2 separate regions of the Homo sapiens genome follow, and region 1 is linked to region 2. The links are contacts of gene promoters, found by promoter capture Hi-C in human tissues and cell types (Jung and others, 2019). All regions are on one chromosome and are shown on one strand. The core of a region is centred on a gene start or on the middle of the fragment in contact, and the rest is flanking DNA. Distances in the headings are between cores, read along the strand shown.

Region 1 (5,882 bases), core at 1,631-4,130, 150 kb before region 2:
ACTCAGCCACCTCCCCACTCCTCTGTCAAAAAAGCCAGTACTGACCTGCTGGCTGACATCGGTGGAGACCCCTTTGCTGCACCCCAGATGGCACCAGCTTTTGCTGCATTCCCTGCCTTTGGGGGTAAGTGGGTTTTGGGATGGGACCCTCCCTACAGCGTATATGCTTACAACATGAGAGATCCAGTCCCTGGAGGTAACCATGGCTCTAGATCTTCTCATGCAAACAAATGTGAGGGTCACTCTGAAGCAGTGAGGCTGGGAGGACTGGGGTCAAATAAGTACAGCCAGGATTATGTTTGGGGGTTTGATCCTAAAACATTATAGTTGAGGGCTCCTAGCACTTCCTTTTAGAACACTGGAAATAGCCTTTTTTATTATTTTCTGTCTCTGTTAAAATGGGAGGAGGGGGATTATCATGTGTTCCAGTTCACCAAAGATTATTCTTCCCCCAAATCAGCAATAGCCAGTAGAGGGTTCAGCAGCATAGAATCTGTTTTCCCTTTTTAAAAATTTTCAAGCCAGACACAGTGGCTCACACCTGTAATCCTAGCATTTGAGAGGCTGAGGTGGGCAGATCACCTGAGGTCAGGAGTTCAAGACCAGTCTGGCCAACATGGTGAAACCTCATCTCTACTAAAAAGAAAAAAAAAATTAGCCAAGTGTGGTGGCATGTGCCTGTAGTCCCAGCTACTTGGGAGGCTAAGGCAGGAGAATTGCTTGAACCTAGGAGGTGGAGGTTGCAGTGAATCACAATTGCATCACTGGACTCCAGCCTAGGTGACAGAGTGAGACTCCGTCTCAAAAAAAAAAAAAAAAAAAAAAAAATTCAAGCTCCTTCCTCCATGAAAAAAAATTTTCATGCTCCAAACTAGGCCCTGACAAAAATGTTAATGCCTCATGGAGTAAGGACAGAAGAGGGCAGGGAGTGAACCTGGAGGCCCTGGGTGCCCCTGTTCCCCTGTGTGGGTCTGGCTCTTGGCCCCAGGCCCCACCCATTTCCCTCTGAAGAGAACCCTGTGGAAAGGCAGATGTCCCATAAGAGTGGCCTTTGGCCTTTAGAATTAGTAGCTATATTACATGGATAGGCATATACATTTTCTTTTCTTTTTCTGTTGTGTGTGTGTGGTTTTTTTTTTTTTTTTTTTTTTTTTTTTGAGTCAGAGTCTCATTCTGTCACCCAGGCTAGAGTAGAGTGGCACAATCTCGGCTCACTGCTAGCTCCACCTCCCAGGTTTAAGCAATTCTCATGCCTCAGCCTCCAAGGTAGCTGGGATTACAGGCATGTACCACCACGCCCAGCTAATTTTTATATTTTTAGTAGAGACAGATTTCACCATGTTGACCAGGCTGGTCTTGAACTTCTGACCTCAAGTGATCTGCCCACCTCGGCCTCCCAAAGTGCTGGAATTACAGGCGTGAGCTACCACACCCGACAATTTTCTATATAACCTTTATGTTTCTTCCACCTACAGGCCAGACACCTTCCCAAGGAGGCTTTGCCAACTTTGATGCCTTTAGCAGTGGCCCCAGCTCTTCTGTGTTTGGAAGCCTCCCTCCAGCTGGTCAAGCCTCGTTCCAGGCCCAGCCAACTCCTGCAGGTAAACTCTGCCCCACTGGCTTCCTTTCTCTTCCAACCGTGTCCATTTGTTCATGTCTATAAATCACCATTCATATCCTCACTATCCTAAAGAACTGCTCAAAGCAGCAAAGCACAAAGAGAAGCAGCTCCAGGAGAGGATGAGCGTGTCTGACACATTCTTGTCAGGGAGAGGGGGCTCTACTGTTCTGCTTTTTCATGAAAGGAAAATGACTAAGATTGCAGCAGGAGCTGTGTGGGTTATACACTAGGAAACTTTTCACTAGGAAGTATGGAAGACCTGAGTCCTAGAAAAATTGAAAATGGACGTGACTTTTTCTCTAAGGTGCTCTTGTCTGCATAGTACGCTGTCCCAAAGGGTCAAGGGTCAAGGTAGTCTCCAGAAGTCCTCATCCATCCCTCTAAGACCAAAGGCCTGTAAACTCTATGTTGCTGCCAGCCACAATGGCTCACGCCTGCAATCCTAACACTTTGGGAGGCCGAGGTGGGAGGATCGCTTGAGCCCAGGAGTTTGAGGCTGTAGTGAGTGATTATTGTGCCATTGCACTCCAGTCTGGGTGACAGAGTGAGACCCCATCTCAAAACAAACGAACGAACAAACAAAACCAAATAAACTATGTTATTTAGCCATTGCAAGAGACTCTTCAGGCCTTCTTAAAGCATTCTGCTCCTTCCTAAGCTCTACACATTGAGTCTTCATAGCCTTTGGGTGCCTTCTGCCATTGGACATCCTGGACACATGGGAGGGCAGCTGCAGTGCTCGCCGTCAGGCTCAGATGTCTGGGGAAAAGCCAGTGACATACACTCTTTCTTTCTCCCTTCCTCTACCCACCCTTCTCTTCTCCACCCTCACTGCCAGCCAGTCGGATGCTAACTGAAAGTTACAGCTTTGGTAAGTTATTATCCCCACCCCAGAGCCTACCCAAGTGCCTCTGATCATAGAGTTTTGAGGGCTGGAAGGAACCCTTAAAATTTGGCCATTTGACAGATAAGGCAGTTAAGCAATTTCCCTAGTCATGCAGGCCACAGAGCGACCAAGCTGAGACCAGAGCCCAGACTTCTTGACTCATGCTCTGCCCACAGCCTTCTCACTGTGCCACTGTGAGCTGATTAGCTGCTTTTGTTTTTATTTTATCGTTTTGGAGGGCTATAAGAAGAAACATTTTATATTGATAAAAGTTGGCTGGGCGTGGTGGCTCACATCTGTGATGCCAGCACTTTGGGAGGCCCAGGTGGGCAGATCACCTGAGGTCAGGAGTTTGACATAAGCCTGGCCAACATGGTGAAACACCGTCTCTACTCAAAATACAAAAATTAGCTGGGCATGGTGGCAGGCACCTGTAATCCCAGCTACTCAGGGGACTGAGGCAGGAGAATCACTTGAACCTGGGAGACAGAGGCTGCAGCGAGCCGAGATCCTGCCACTGCACTCCAGCCTGAGTGACAGAGTAAGACTCTTGTCTCAAAAAAAAAAAAAAAAGTTAAAATTCACAAAGAGGTTCTCAAAATCATGTACTTAAAATAACTGACCGCATACCCATGAGATTCACGAAGCAAAAACTATTAGACACAATCAGAATTTAATAAGCCAAAGGACTAGGAGACTATAATATGCTTTCCCACATGACTAATAGACAAGTAAGAAATAAACTATAGGAAACAAAATCTCCATAAATTCTAACAAAGACAAATCACATAGGTCACATTTTGGTTTTTGTTGTTGTTTTGTTGTTTGTGTGTTTTTTGAGACAGAGTCTTACTCTGCTGCCCAGGCTGGAGTGCAATGGCGTGATCTCATTCAAGCGATTCTCCTGCCTCAGCCTCCTGAGTAGCAGGATTACAGGCGCATGCCACCATGCCCGGCTAATTTTTGTATTTTTAGTAGAGACGGGGTTTCACCATGTTGGCTAGGCCGGTCTCAATCTCCTGACCTCAAGTGATCCGCCTGCCTTGGCCTCCCAAAGTTCTGGGATTATAGGCATGGGCCACTATGCCTGGCCATAGGTCACATTCTGTATGATAAAAGATGACACAAACAAAGCTTAAAGGTATGAAACAGATGGAGAGAAGATACAACATGGAAAACAGATGGAAATTAGTATCCATAAAGTATTTTTAAAATTCCTGTGAATATGAAAATATAATAATGGACAAGACATATAAGCAGGTAACACCCAGAAAAAAAAATATGAAAATAGGCCAGGCGCGGTGGCTCATGCCTATAATCCCAGCAGTTTGGGAAGCTGAGGCAGGTGGATCACCTGAGGTCAGGAGTTCAAGACCAGCCTTGCCGATATGGTGAAACCCTGTCTCTGCTAAAAATACAAATATTAGCCGGGCATGGTGGCAGGCGCCTGTAATAGCAGCTACTTGGGAGGCTGAGGCAGGAGAATCACTTGAACCCGGGAGGCGGAGGTTGCAGTGAGCAGACATCGTGCTGTTGCGCTCCAGCCTGGGCGACAAGAGCGAGACTTTGTCTCGAAAAACAAAAAAACAAAAGAAAATATCCTCAACCTAATTAATCAGAGAAATGCAAACTAGGATAAGATAGTTTTGCACATCATGTTGGCAAAATTTTTAGATTGATAATGGCCAGTATTATGTGGGGGAAAATGACCTTCTTGTGCGCTGTTGGCAGGAATTGTACATTGGTGCAGGAATATTCGATTTAGTAAGAAAGGTGTGCTCCTAGGAATGGGAGCACTCGAGGAAACAGCCTATATAAAGTTGTTATAGATGCGTCCCTTCTGAAATGCCTTCCCAGTACAATTGATTGCTCTAAAGACAGAGTTTTTTTTGTTTTTGTTTTTGTTTTTTTTTTTTTTTAGACGGAGTCTCACTCTGTCACCCAGGCTGGGGTGTAGTGGCACAATCTCGGCTCACTGCAAACTCCGCCTCTCGGGTTCACGCTATTCTCCTGCCTCAGCCTCCTGAGTAGCTGGGGCCACAGGCACCCGCCACCACACCTGGCTAATTTTTTGTATTTTTAGTAGAGACAGGGTTTCACCGTAAAGACAGTTTTTGGGGCAGACTCAGAGAGAAGGAAGGGCTCAGCTCCACGGATGTCCCAAGCATTAAACCTTTTGTCCACTATCTGGCTGTCTCAAAAAGCAGTCAGTCACTGGGCGCAGTGGCTCATACCTGTAATCCCGGCACTTTGGGAGGCTGAGTGGGGTGCATCATTTGAGGTCAGAAGTTTGAAACCAGCCTGGCCTACATGGTGAAACCCCTCTCTACCAAAATACAAAAATTAGCCAGGCATGGTGGTGCGTGACTGTAGTCCCAGCTACTGGGGAGGCTGAGGCAGGAAGATTGCTTGAACCCGGGAGGCTGAGGTAGCAGTGAGCTGAGATTGCGCCACTGCACTCTGGGTGACAGAGCAAGACTCTGTCTCAAACAAAACAAAAACAGTCAATCTACAGCCAAACCCAGAGCCAAGGAACATTTCCGAGGATCCTGCCATTGTTGGGTGCCTTCATGCATTATGTCCATGAGGAAGGAAAGAGCTTCCCTTTGCAGGAAACTGGCTCAACTTGGCCCAGATCTAATGCTGATAATTGGCAGAACCGCTTCCCACTACACCATGATCATGCAGGTGTTCCCGTGAGTGTGACTTAGCTGTTGGGTGTGAACTGAGAGAGGAGATTTTGAGAGGTGGGTGTCTCTTCTGACAAACCTGCTTTTATTTTTATATTTCTGAGGGGGAGTATGGAGAGAGGGGTTTTCAAAACTGCTTCTCTCCCTCAAACTGTGATAAGGCAGGGTAGAAATCTAGCTGCGTGGTATAAGAAGCGCATGAAGGCCGGGTGTGGTGGCTCATGCCTGTAATCCCATCACTTGGGGAGGCTGAGGTGGGCAGATCACCTGAGCTCAGGAGTTTGAGACCAGCCTGGGCAACATGGCAAAACTTCATTTCTACCAAAAATACAAATAATTAGCTGGCCATAGTGGTGCGTGCCTGTAGTCCCAGCTACTCAGGAGGCTAAGGTGGGAGAATCAGCTGAGCCCTGAAGGTCGAGGCTGCAGTGAGCTGAGATCATGCCACTGCACTCCAGCCTGGGCAATTGGAATGAGACCCTGTCTCAAAAAAAAAAAAAAAAAGTGCATGAAATGAAAAGCAAACAGGAGTGCAGGTGTTTCTTGGGCCACCGCCTCCTTTGTGAGAATGCACCCTCTGTGCAAAGGGCCAACCCTGCCTGGGCTAGGGATGGTTCTGCCCCCTAGTGTCCACAGGGAGGCACAGCATGGCCTGCAGCCTCTCTCCCAGCCTGGTCCTCACTGG
Region 2 (6,157 bases), core at 1,741-4,240:
GCCTCCTGGGTTCCACCTATTCTCCTGCCTCAGTCTCCTGAGTAGCTGGGATTAGTACCAGGCACGTGCCACCACACCCGGCTAATTTTGTATTTTTAGCAGAGACGGGGTTTCACCATGTTGGCCAGGCTGGTCTTGAAATCCTGACCTCAAGTGATCTGCCCACCTTGGCCTCCAAAGTGCTGGGATTAAAGGCGTGAGCCACCATGCTTGGCCCCTATAGATTAATTTGAAGAGAATTGGTATCTTTACTATAATATGTTGGATCTTCCAATTCAATCCCAATCTTGTGGTTAATGAAAGAATCTGAAGTAAAGGAAAGAACTATGGGATTGAAATGGGGTGCTGGGAGCAAATTTCTCTAGAATCTGAACTCTCTTCAACCTTTGATCAAATGGGGTCAGACTCCATCCTAGGGAACTGAGAAGGGCCTGGGAGACATAAATATGCCAACTCACCTGTGTAGGTTTACAGTTTACAACATTACCTTGGGTTTCACAACTCAACTGCAAGAAAGGAATTAGCATCCCCATTTTTTTTAAACCAGTGTTTTCATATCCTTTATTCCCAAGTCAGTGTATTTGTCAGTTTGAATGTTACATGTATGATAAAACAGATTATGAAAAGCATACTAACGAGAACATTATTTTATATAACTGATCATTGAATATGCAACCTCTTGCAACAATAACTTAATGGACCCAACTCTACCTTCTAAATGGACCAATTTTATGATTCTCCTAAAATGTTTTGAGTTGGGTATAGTTTCTTGTTGCTTCTTCCTGTGATCCAAAGCTTAAAAATGAGGCTGGGCACAATAGCTCAAGCCTGTCATCCCAGCACTTTAGGAGGCCAAGGTAGGAGGATCACTTGAGATCAGGAGTTTGAGACCAGCCTGGCCAACATGGTGAAACCCCATCTCTACTGAAAATACAAAAATTAGCCGGGCGTGGTGGTGCACACCTGTAATCCCAGCTACTCAGGAGGCTGAGGCAGGAGAATCGCTTTAACCTCAGAGGCAGAGGTTGCGGTAAGCTGAGATCGTGCCTCTGCACTCCAGCCTGGGCAACGGAGCGAGACTCCGTCTCAAAAAAAAAAAAAGGAATGAATCTCTGGAAACTAGCAATTAGAGCCAGACCTCCCTAGGACCAAGGAGACAGGAGTTGGAGAAAAAGACACTACAGGTGATGCCCACAGTCTCAAGCACTGTGGCATATGCTTGACCTCAGAGCATTCCAGTACTCAAGGTCAAGTGTGGCACCATCCGTATATCCTGTCATCGCAAATGCCCGCAACTGCTACAATTAACAGGATATGGGAGAGAGGAGGCACATCATGTGAGGAGGAATGAATCGCTCCCAACAATTATGTGAACATTTCGAAAATTTCTTTTTTTTTTTTTTTGAGATGGAGTCTGGCTCTGTCCCCCAGGCTGGAGTGCAGTGGCGCGATCTTGGCTCTCTGCAAGCTCCGCCTCGTGGGTTCACGCCATTCTCCTGCCTCAGCCTCCCGAGTAGCTGGGACTACAGGCGCCTGCCACCATGCCCGGCTAATTTTTTGTATTTTTAGTAGAGGCGGGGTTTCACCGTGTTAGCCAGGATGGTCTCGATCTCCTGACCTCGTGATCCGCTCGTCTCAGCCTCCCAAAGTGCTGGGATTACAGGCGTGAGCCACCGCGCCCGGCCAACATATCGAAAATTTCAATACCAAGGATTAACTTCTAAAATACAACTTTATATGCTAGTGCATGCCCGTAGTCCAAGCTGTTCAGGTGGCTGGGGCGGGAGAATTGCTTGAGCCCAGGAGTTCAGGGCTGCAGTGAGCCGTGTTAACGCCACTGCACTCCAGCCTGGGTGACAGAGTAAGGCCCTGTCTCAAAAAAATGAAATAAACTGGCCGGGTGCGGTGGCGTGCGCCTGTAATTCCAGCTACTCAAGAGGCTGAGGCACAAGAATCGTTTGAACCCGGTAGGCAGAGGTTGTAGTGAGCTGAGATCACACCACTGCAGTCCAGCCTGGGCCACAGAGACCCTGTCTCAAAAATAAATGCATGCAAGTTTGTAGACAGAAGCTATACAGCTAGCCATTCAATAAAATGCATGTGCAATATGGTGGAGCTGTTGTGAACATCCCCATTTGAATGCTGGGCAAACAGAGTAGTTCAAGGTCCCCAGTGCAGCAGGTCCTACTCATTTCAGAAGGGAACTCTGCAGAAACTATGCCCATCTGGGCAGAGCCCCCACTCCACTGGCCTGAGAGCCACGAATCCGGCGCGCGTCCTCCCCACCTTGCCCGCCAGGGGGCGGCAAGTCCCTGATCCGGGGTCGCCTGCTGCAGAGCTGGTGGGAGATGGTTGAGGGGCGTGGGTGGGTCAGCGTTCCTTGGGGACCCGTGAAGCCTGGGCTTAGGGCTCACAGCGTGGGTCCCCAGCACAGACAGGAGGCGGACAGCTTCCCGTGAACTGCAGGGGAGTCCCGGGACGCTGTCCTCCAGCGAGGTGGGGACCGGCTATGTCCCTCAGTTCCCCCTCGGTCCTCGGGCCACAGGGACATTAGACTAGGGGGTCAGTTCTGCCAGCCCTGCCCAGGCCTCTTCTGACCAGAGGAGCTGCGACGGACGCGGAGTTCAGGCCCCTTGGCGACCGCGGTCTCCTGAACTCGGCCCCTTCCCTGCTCCCATGGGGAAGAACCCTGCCCCTAGAACAGCCTCCCCTCCAGGTGTCTTCCCTACGCTACCCCTCCGCCGGCCGGGAACTCCGCCAGGCCTAGAGACGCCGACCCGGCCCTTTCTAGCTCCTCCCCGGCTCGGACCTGGTTCCCGCCCTCGGCCGCCCGCCAGTTCCCGAGGCGTACACGTGTAGATCCCGTCACGCCCGGAAGTCTCGCGTTTCTCAAACGCCTCGCGCAGTCGCCCTTGCGCTCAGGGAAGGGGCGGGGCGAACGGAAGCCGGGAAGGCGATTCATAGCTCGCGGGGTACGGGCGCGCGTGCGCACTCCGCAGCCCGTTCAGGACCCCGGCGCGGGCAGGGCGCCCACGAGCTGGCTGGCTGCTTGCACCCACATCCTTCTTTCTCTGGGACCTGGGGTCGCGGTTACTTGGGCTGGCCGGCGAACCCTTGAGTGGCCTGGCGGGGAGCGGGCCTCGCGCGCCTGGAGGGCCCTGTGGAACGAAGAGAGTAAGCACGGGAGGGGCGGCGGAGGGGCGCGAGTTTGAGGGCGACGCGATGAATGAATCGGAACGGGGGGTGGGGAGACGCGGGATCTGGAGGTGAGTGGGAGAGGACGAGGGGCCGGAAGGAAACAGGGACATCGAGTGTGTCCCTTCTCGGGTGCACCCTTTATTTTTGTTTTTGTTTTTGTTTGAGACAGAGGCTTGCTCTGTTTCCCAAGCTAGAGTGCAGTGGCGGGCGCGATCACGGCTCACTGTAGCCTCGAACTCCCGATCTCAAGCGATCCTCCCCCCTCGGCCCGGGTAATTAAAAAAATTTTTCTTAAGACAGGGTCTTGCTATGTTGCCCAGGCTGATCTCAAACACCCGGGCTCCAGTGATCCTCCCGCCTCGACCTTCCAAAGTGCTGAGGTTACAGGCGTGAGCCACTGCCCGGCCAGGTGCACCCTTTGTACAGGAAAAGGGGTAGGAAAGGCTTCGAGGTCCCTCTGAGCCCTCTGATCGCGTCCCTTTCCCACGCCAGGGCACACAGCATGGCAGAAAACCGAGAGCCCCGCGGTGCTGTGGAGGCTGAACTGGATCCAGTGGAATACACCCTTAGGAAAAGGCTTCCCAGCCGCCTGCCCCGGAGACCCAATGACATTTATGTCAACATGAAGACGGACTTTAAGGCCCAGCTGGCCCGCTGCCAGAAGCTGCTGGACGGAGGGGCCCGGGGTCAGAACGCGTGCTCTGAGATCTACATTCACGGCTTGGGCCTGGCCATCAACCGCGCCATCAACATCGCGCTGCAGCTGCAGGCGGGCAGCTTCGGGTCCTTGCAGGTGGCTGCCAATACCTCCACCGTGGAGCTTGTTGATGAGCTGGAGCCAGAGACCGACACACGGGAGCCACTGACTCGGATCCGCAACAACTCAGCCATCCACATCCGAGTCTTCAGGGTCACACCCAAGTAATTGAAAAGACACTCCTCCACTTATCCCCTCCGTGATATGGCTCTTCGCATGCTGAGTACTGGACCTCGGACCAGAGCCATGTAAGAAAAGGCCTGTTCCCTGGAAGCCCAAAGGACTCTGCATTGAGGGTGGGGGTAATTGTCTCTTGGTGGGCCCAGTTAGTGGGCCTTCCTGAGTGTGTGTATGCGGTCTGTAACTATTGCCATATAAATAAAAAATCCTGTTGCACTAGTGTCCTGCCATCCCACTGCCACTGATTCTTTCCTGTGTAAATTCTGTGTGTGCCTGAATAGGGATGGTAGGAAACGCTACAGGTATCTAGGTGAAAGGGGAACCCAAGTGTTTCTTGCCTCTATAGAGAGCATAGATTATGCTATGAGCAGTGTAACAAAACAGTACAGTGCAGAAACCCAGTCATCCCAATGTTTGTTTGTTTGTTTGTTTTTTGAGACAGAGTCTCACTCTGTCACCCAGGCTGGAGTGCAGTGGTGCAATCTTGGCTCACTGCAAGCTCCACCTCCTGAGTTCACGCCATTCTCCTGCCTCAGCCTCCTGAGTAGCTGGGACTACAGGTGCCTGCCACCACACCCTGGCTAATTTTTTTGTATTTTTAGTAGAGACAGGGTTTCAGCGTGTTAGCAGGGATGTTCTCGATCTCCTGACCTTGTGATCCACCCATCTCGGCCTCCCAAAGTGCTAGGATTACAGGCGTGAGCCACCGTGCCCAGCCCCAATGTTTGTTTTAAAGATTTTCGTCTTCTAGTTGGGTGCAGTGGCTCCAGCCTGTAGTCTGAGCTACTGGCGGAGGCTGAGGCGGAAAGAGTGCTTGAGCCTGGGAGTTTGAAGGTGCAGTGAGTTATGATCATGCCACCTGCACTCCAATCTAGATGACATACTGAGACCTAGTCTATGCAAAAAAACCACTTTTTTTTTTTTTCTGAGATGAAGTCTTGCTCTGTCACCCAGGCTGGAGTACAGTGGTGCCATCTTGGCTCACTGCAACGTTCGGCTCCTGGGTTCAAGTGATTCTCCTGCTTCATCCTCCCCAGTAGCTGGAATTACAGGTGAGTGCCACCACGCCCAGCTAATTATTTTTGTATTTTTTTAGTGGAAACACCATGTTGGCCAGGCTGTTCTCGAACTCCTGACCTCAAGTGATCTGCCCGCCTTGGCCTCCCAAATGCAAAAAATTTTTGAAAACTAGATGGGTGTAGTGGTTTGCACCTATAATCCCAGCTACCTCGTTAGCTGAGGCAGGAGGATCGCTTGAGCCCAGGAGTTCAAGGCTGCAGTGAGCTGTGATCACCGCACTACACTCCTCCAGCCTTGCTGACACAGCAAGACCGTATCTCAAAAAAAAAAAAAAAAAAAAAAAGGAAGCAAACTAAGACTTCAGGACCTTCTTAGTGTCAGGCTCCATGGTAGGGACTGACAAGTGGCTTCATTTAATTCCTGGACCTGCAGGGCCTACCTAGATGATACCCGGGCTTTCAGGTGCAGAGCCCTTCAGACCCTTTTTTTTTTTTTTTTTTTTTTTTGAGACAGCTTCACTCTGTCATCCAGGCTGGAGTGCAGTGGTGCGATCTCAGCTCACTGCAACCTCTGCCTCCTGGGTTCAAGGGATTCTTCTGCCTCAGCCTCCTGAGTAGCCGGGACTATAGGCATCCATCACCATGCCCTGCAATTTTTTGTATTTTTAGTAGAGAAGGGGTTTCACCATGTCAGCCAGGCTGGTCTCAAACTTCTGACCTGAAGCGTTCTGCCTGCCTTGGCCACCCAAAGTGCTGGGATTACAGGCATGAGCCACTGCGCCCGGCCTTCAGACCCTTCTCACTGGGCTGCTCCAGTGGCGAAGGAACCCCTCACTCCAAATAATTACTGGGCACACAGGTAATACTTTCTGTTTGGATATTTGTGGGATGACCTGATTTTTCATATTTATCAAACTAAAGTCAACTAAAGCAATGTTTATCAAAGCGGGTTGTGACCCATTTGTGGGTCACAGCTTCTTAAAAAAAGAAAAAGCCAGGCGCG

The links. The method cuts DNA at HindIII sites, captures the fragments that hold promoters and counts their contacts. A contact is called where the count stands out against the background at its distance.
Region 1: a contact is called between a fragment that was not itself captured here and the fragment with the promoter of POP7 in region 2, in 1 of the 25 tissues and cell types used here (aorta).

What each region holds. Positions count from the first base shown.
Region 1 is chr7:100,554,135-100,560,016 of GRCh38, forward strand. It overlaps AGFG2 (ArfGAP with FG repeats 2), which reads left to right. Exons shown (of 12, transcript NM_006076.5): 5 at 1-124; 6 at 1,476-1,601. Among named protein-coding and RNA genes, the nearest start is that of SAP25, 17 kb to the right of the region's middle. RefSeq lists an enhancer at 5,601-5,650. The HindIII fragment of the contact is 7,017 bases long and covers 1-5,882 here.
Region 2 is chr7:100,703,131-100,709,287 of GRCh38, forward strand. POP7 (POP7 ribonuclease P/MRP subunit) reads left to right here and starts at 2,991. Exons shown (of 2, transcript NM_005837.3): 1 at 2,991-3,174; 2 at 3,691-4,356. The coding sequence starts at 3,701. The coding sequence ends at 4,123. RefSeq lists an enhancer at 2,330-2,599. The HindIII fragment of the contact is 15,036 bases long and covers 1-6,157 here.